Regions from separate parts of the Homo sapiens genome. Here region 2 is linked to region 1. Evidence: promoter capture Hi-C in human tissues and cell types (Jung and others, 2019). All regions are on one chromosome and are shown on one strand. The core of a region is centred on a gene start or on the middle of the fragment in contact, and the rest is flanking DNA. Distances in the headings are between cores, read along the strand shown. Region 1 holds the start of STK32B (serine/threonine kinase 32B). Region 2 overlaps STX18 (syntaxin 18).

Region 1 (3,333 bases), core at 239-2,738:
TAATTTATCCAAGTTAACTGGCTAATGAGGGGCAAAGCAGAATGAAACCTGGGTAGAATGAGCCCAGAGCCCATGCCTGTCCACATTCCGCCCTATGCTTCTTGAGCTAGGGGCCAGCTCTGTGTTCAGGGCATTGCCTGCTGCACACTGGCTACTCAGTGTATGCTTGTTGGTGGAATGAAAGGCAAGAAATATTTATTCATCATTTATTATATGCCGGGCACTGTTGCCTGCTTTTATAAATATTACCTGATATAATTCTCACAGACAACCCAAGGAGTTAATATCAATCAGCCCACTTTGCAGATAAGAACTCCAAAGTGGGACACATTGCCAGTAAATGGTAGAGCCAGCTCTGGGTCATGGTGGGTGGGCCTGCCTCAGACCTTCTCAGTTCTTTCCCACTGCCTTTAAGAGATTTTTTGTTTTGTTTTGTTTTGTTTTGTTTCTGTATGAGTCTCCCCGGCTTCCCTCACCCTTCTCCCAAGAAAAAGAAAGAAGGGGAGAGAACTGGAGAGAGAGACCAGGTAGGGGACGGGGACTGGGGGACGAGATAGGATGGAGAGAGTCACAAAGAACCCCTGCTTTCTATCAAAGCACGGACAGTGGTTCCAGGCGCCCAGCAGATGGCAGGATGTAGCCAAAGATTCCCTGCAGTCCCGGAGAGCTGGGCCCGCAGGACTGCAAGGCAGGGGGACCTGCCTGTCCCTCAGGGAGCGTCCTGGGAACCCGCGCTCGCCCCACACGTCTTGGGGCGCATCTGCCGCACCCCTTACTTAGGCACCCGCAACTGTGGCGCGTATCTCCCGATCCAGGCTCCCGCCGCAGGAGCCCAGGGACCCTCATGCTAGCCTCGCCCCTAAATCGGACGCCGATGCCGCCCAATTTTGGGGGAATCCCGAGACTCATGCCCAGCCATTCCCAGGGAGAATGGTTTGGGGCAAACTATGGCTGTCTGGGGCCTCAGTTTCCCCATGTACAATGAAGGGGTCAGATTAGTATCTAATCTTAAGGGGTCAGAAAGTAAACAGATACTTTCATTCATTAAACACTGAGAAAAACCTTAAGAGGAACAGCGTCGGTTGGAGAGCCAGCAGACACTCCACTGCCCATCCCAATATGAATGGGCAAATACAGGCTAGCGGGGAGTCCTGGGACTCCCTTCGCAGCCGGGGCCGACTAACCACAGACCTAAGAGCCCCTCTACCTCTAGACCTCCGTCTACTGCGCTCTAAAATATGAACGATGCTTTCTTACTGCTGGGTTGTCGGAGGCGGATGTGGGATGGTGCTAACAAAGCGCGTAGCCGAGGCCTGGCCATAGTGGGTGCTGACAAACCGCTTACTGCCTGCAGGGACCGAGCTCCCGGCCGAGGGAGGAGGGCCGAGCAGGGATTCAGATTCTTCCGGGCCGATCCCTTTCTCAGCTCCTTCCGCCCTGCCGCCGCCCACTGCGTGCTGCCTTCGTCCGTCCCCTCCTCCCCCGCTCCTTCCCCTCCTTCCCCTGCTCCCGCGCCGCCTCGCGTCTCCCGCCCGCTGTAGCCGGCGAGGAGCGCCGCACGTTGGCCCCGGCGCGAGGAGCTCCCGGGTTCCCGGGCGGGCACTGGAGTAAGGAGCTGCGAGCGCAGCCCGAGGCGGGGCACGGCGGAAGGCGCGGCGAGAGCGGGGTCCCTGCGAGCGCAGTCGGAAGGGCGTCCAGGAGAAGGGGGACGCCGTCCCCGCCCCTGCACGGTGCTCGGCCCCCTCGGGCTCCGCGCGCGGCTACAACCCGGACTGGGCGCGCCCCCGGCATCCCGCATCTCTGCGCGCGTCCCACATCCCGCATCCGGCATCCCAGCGGCCGGGCATGTAGCAGCGGCAGCAACGGCGGAATATGGGCGGGAACCACTCCCACAAGCCCCCCGTGTTTGACGAGAATGAGGAAGGTAAGAGAGCGAGAGGTGCGAATTCCCGCTTCGCGGGGCATCCCCTTCCTCCACCACCCTCGGCCGAGCCCTGCGGGGCACCGCATGCTGCCCGGCGCGGGGACCCAGGCATGGCCACTTCGCCCAGCGAATGCAGTGTGTGCCCGACCCGTGCCAGGCGCGGCGCTTCTGCTGAGGCAACTCCTAGGTACCCAGTGCCGTTTAGTAGTCGGGACGGTGCCTAGCGCGGGACTGGGGAGGCGGCTTCAGAGAGTTGAACCCGAAACCTGCACTTGGGGGTGTGGAAGGGAGGAGTTGACTTCGGAGGCCAGTCGGGATGGTTCTAGGCTCGGGCTCCCCAGGAAACCGAGGTTTCCTTGAGAGCCTGAGGCTGACGGAGGTGGCCTGGAAGGGCGGGTTGCACCGTGTGTCTGTGTGTGTGTGCGCGTGCCCACGACGCATTTGGTCTCGTGCAAGGGCCTGTTGGATGCAGCTCTCCTCAATCACCCAGGACAGAGGGAAACTTTTCTTTGCTAAACTCTGTGGTTCCTAGGAGGGCGTCCTGTTCTGGGCAGCCTCCCCCTGGCGCAGAAGTGGTGTAGGCTGTCCAACCGCATCTCAACTTCCTGGCTGGATCCTTGCGGTTCAGGTCGATAGAGCTCCCTATTTGGACTAGCAGAACCCTCTTTCCAGTGCAGCGTGTCCCTGGAAAACTTACTTCACCTCTCTGAAACATTAGTCCCTTCATCAATGAAATGTGAGTTATGATACCACTAGCTACTTTATAGGGTTGTTTGAAGCTTAACCACTAGTAATCCACGTGAAAAGTGCCTTATAAATGCAAGCAGTACCGAGCTGTGCCGTTTTTTATGTTAAGAGCCCTCTGCCTCTCAAAGCTGGTTTCCTACTGTGCTGACTCGCCAGTCTCCACTGTGCCCCAGGTAAGAGCTGAGACATACTGAGCACTTACTATGTTCCAGCCATGCTAGCACATAGTGTTCACTCCATCCTTTTCATGCCCCTTGAGGTGGCTACCTTAGAAAGGGGTCTGTCCTGGTTACTGCTGGTAAGAAGTAGAGCTGGGCTTGAGGCAGGACAGTCTGCTTTGAAAGCTGTGCCTGTCATCATTACCCAGGGCACTGGCTGTGTGCGTACATCATGGATGGCTTCTAGAACTCCCAAGGCTGTGAGTGCTACTCAGATGCCTGCCTGGACAGCCCTTCTCAAAAAGATAGATGAACACAGTCAAGGTTAAGTGAGCACCTGCTGTGTCAGGCCCACGAGAGCCTTCCTTAAAGGAGTTCCTAGTCTAATGGCCCTGAATGACCGTCCATGGTGATAAGGGCATTGAGAAACCAGTGCAGGGTCTTGGGGGCACAGAGAGGCCCCAGCTTTTCCTGATCTTTAGTCTGGAGCATGTGCAGGTGAGC
Region 2 (3,333 bases), core at 479-2,978, 560 kb before region 1:
TAAGTTACAGAACTTTCTAACATCTTCTTTGTTTGGAAATAAATGAAAAGGTAAAACTTAGTGGTTTCTAGAATTTAAAGAAACTAGCAAATTGCCAACAGCTTAGTTTTACAAAATGAGGGCTCAACTGCTAAAAATGGATTGCTCCTTAAGTGTACAAAGTAACACAAAATAATCACTCCGTAACATAACATTTGCCGGAAAAAAATGTGTGAAAACTACTAGAAAAATAATAGTTAGGTCCTGAGCAGTATATTAAAGATCTTGATTTTGAGACTCAAATTATATCTTTTCATTCTACATGAGTTCTTACTTTCTTTGGACAAAAAATTTAAGGTCCTGTATCTGAATTCAGCTCAGTGTGAAAGCTTTAAATGTAAAACTAGTATATGCAATTTAAATCCCCTTTAACAGTTTTTCAGACAATTAATTAGGTAAAGCATTTGAAACACCATACATACAAAAAATTTTCATTCATATTGCAATGAATTTCACTCAAAATCACATATCGAACTGTAATAAATTTACAATAAAAATGTAACACTAACTGCCCCCCACAAATACATATACACTTTTAAGAGATACACAGTCATGTACCTAAGAAAGGAAAGTAAAACTTGACAATGTTCAAGAAATCTTTCGAAAGCTCTACAGCATTAGTCAGCATTATCTGATCAAATATTAGCATGACCACTATTTTCAAAAGGGCCCATATGTAACAATAGCCAAAGGGGCATCTTCCTAAACTTACAGTATTACTCTAATAGAACAGACAAATTTCCTTAAGAATTGGAGTTGTACTGAACACAAAATGCCGATTTGCAATTATGAGGTCAATCTCATAACAATGAGATTTAAAACAAATTTCAGATTACGGTTTTAAATTTCTATTCATTCTCTATACAGTGGTATATTTCAATAATTACATAAACTGAAACGTTTTCCCTCCTATTTTTTCTCCAAAAGGTTCTCTACAGATGCTTACTTCGTAAAATGCAGCTTAAAATTTATTGGAAACTAAGAATTTTTTTACATGGAATCTATAAATACATGCATAATTTCTGTGCCCATAATTGGAAAAGGGCACAGAGGCTCCTATAACAATCACTAAGGAAGCTCTTAAAAACAAAAAACTTCATCCATGTTCAGGCTGAAGAATTCACATTTAACCTTTATTTTAAATTACAGCCAAAGTCTTTGTTTCAAATCCACATAAATCACTGTTCTTCTCTCTGCAAATACATTTTAGAGAAAACATTATTTAATGTTACATCTGACTTTAATAGAGTTTCCCATTTGCTTTTGCATGTTTATTATCAAACTCTAATCATGACATTTCCAAACTTATTTATACTTTCACACAAACTTCCGAAGTTTTCCCAACTTAAATAAAAACCCACAAAAACTGTGGGAAATGTTTTGCTTGAAAGATAAAAGCAACGTGGTCCAAATGTACATTTGTAATAATCAGTGTTTACTTTTGTTGTTCAAACATTCGGCTTATAGCACTTTCAATATACGCATTCAACTTAATTTTCTTGTCTCTTAAAAAAAAAAAAAGAAGGAAAGTGTTTTCTTTCCCTGTTTTGCTCTCAAAATATAAACTCATTTAATGCAAAGCATTCCCGGATCAGGCATGTTTTAAACTACGAGCACGTCTAGCCTCAACAGCATTCATCCATATTATATACAAAATGCCATTTCTTTCAAAACTTCAGTCTGGACATTTTATAAATCTAATTTCACTTTTCCTAAAAACATGAGGATATTTTACTATATAAGGCTCAATTAAAGTTTTAGTAAATAAAAATAACAAAAGAAATGATACCATAATACTAACGTAGGAAAAAGGATATATATTAATTTCATTTACTGAAAACGTTGAGGGTTTTTTCCTTGAAGTGTCTCTACTATAGATTTTACACTACATTTATTAAAATATGACAAACCTTTAACCTGGGAACAATTTACCAGTTAACATCATCTACCGAAAGAGGAAGTATACTTTGGGTAAGTAAGACACTGGAAACGATTTATGCTGCCTTTTTTCAAAGCTGCTTAGAAAATGGCTATGTACTTTTAAAAAATAATCATTAAAAACAGTCTAACGGTTGTCTTGTGATATCGTTGATCACAAGCCTAGTGATGCCACCTAATTCTAAAGACTGAAATGTGCCTCTCAAAGGGATCTAGCGCAGCCACAGTGTAATATACGTTAAAGGTAATGAAACTAAAAAGTAAGATTTCCTAATAGAATGAACATATTTTAAAGTTTTTATGATTGACAAAAGACTTCTTTTTTTAGCCATTAAAAAACTAAAAGTATCCTGACAAGAGATTCTGGTTTTGAAGTATGTCACACTCCGGTTACCCAGCCATGAATCTCAGTTCATTTTTTAAAATGAGGTCTATTTCCTGTAATTTTAGATATTTTAGAGTACAATTATTTTACATTTTTATGATGCCTTTGGGGTATCATTACAAATATTTTTATGTGTTTAAACTTAGGAAAGAAAAATTAAGTAATAGCTTCTCTTATAGGGAGCTGTCAACTCTCTCCTGGACAAAAATCTTTGTTTTAAAGCAATCTAGAGATTTATATCCCTAGTAACCATAGAAATTAATCTTAAGCTTTAGAAAAAAATTGCATAAAATGCTCTTTATTTAATTAAAATCAGAGCTCATTCTTAGAAATAAGAACCTTCTTTCGAACAGAAAGAATTTTCCACAGAGTATAGGTGGTACTCTTTGTGATAAATGAATCACGCACATTTAATTGACTTTTGAATTGTGTGCATAGAAAGTTAAGTACTTTGTTGGAAAGGATTCGCTCAGGGACTATATTCACTGAAAACTTTTCATAAGAAAAGAAAGTGAAACACAGGATTCAAACAGTGTTTGTAGATTATCTGAGTGTGAGCAAGAAAAAAAGCATAAAGAAAAGCATTTGACAATAACAATTAGGAGAATCACTCATGGGGAGGTCACTTTGTTTTTATTAGGAAACTGAAAATATTTTTCAGCGTGCCTTAGTATGACGATGCATCAACACATCATAAATCAAATTTCATTTTGTGATGACTATCACTTTCTATTTCACATGCATTAAAAAAGAGACATGTTCTGAATTCTGCTTATCACCATATGACTAAGAAGTTTATTTCAGATTTAGAAACCAGTCGAGGATGTCTGGGGCAGTCAACAATGCTCTGCTTAGCCACTCTCTTCCCTAGTAGTCTGAAAAAAATGTGTGCATTTAAGAGATGGTAATAACAAACTCCTCAAATATTTTTAAAATGTCAAAGTTTTTAAGGCTTATAAAATTCAGATTCT

Evidence for each region. The method cuts DNA at HindIII sites, captures the fragments that hold promoters and counts their contacts. A contact is called where the count stands out against the background at its distance.
Region 2: a contact is called between a fragment that was not itself captured here and the fragment with the promoter of STK32B in region 1, in 2 of the 25 tissues and cell types used here (IMR-90 fibroblasts and hippocampus).

Annotation. Positions count from the first base shown.
Region 1 is chr4:5,049,992-5,053,324 of GRCh38, forward strand. STK32B (serine/threonine kinase 32B) reads left to right here and starts at 1,489. Exons shown (of 12, transcript NM_018401.3): 1 at 1,489-1,924. The coding sequence starts at 1,873. RefSeq lists an enhancer at 2,191-2,729. The HindIII fragment of the contact is 7,679 bases long and covers 1-3,333 here.
Region 2 is chr4:4,489,571-4,492,903 of GRCh38, forward strand. The region is part of intron 1 of STX18 (syntaxin 18); the gene reads right to left. Among named protein-coding and RNA genes, the nearest start is that of STX18-IT1, 9.5 kb to the left of the region's middle. RefSeq lists an enhancer at 551-730. The HindIII fragment of the contact is 6,423 bases long and covers 1-3,333 here.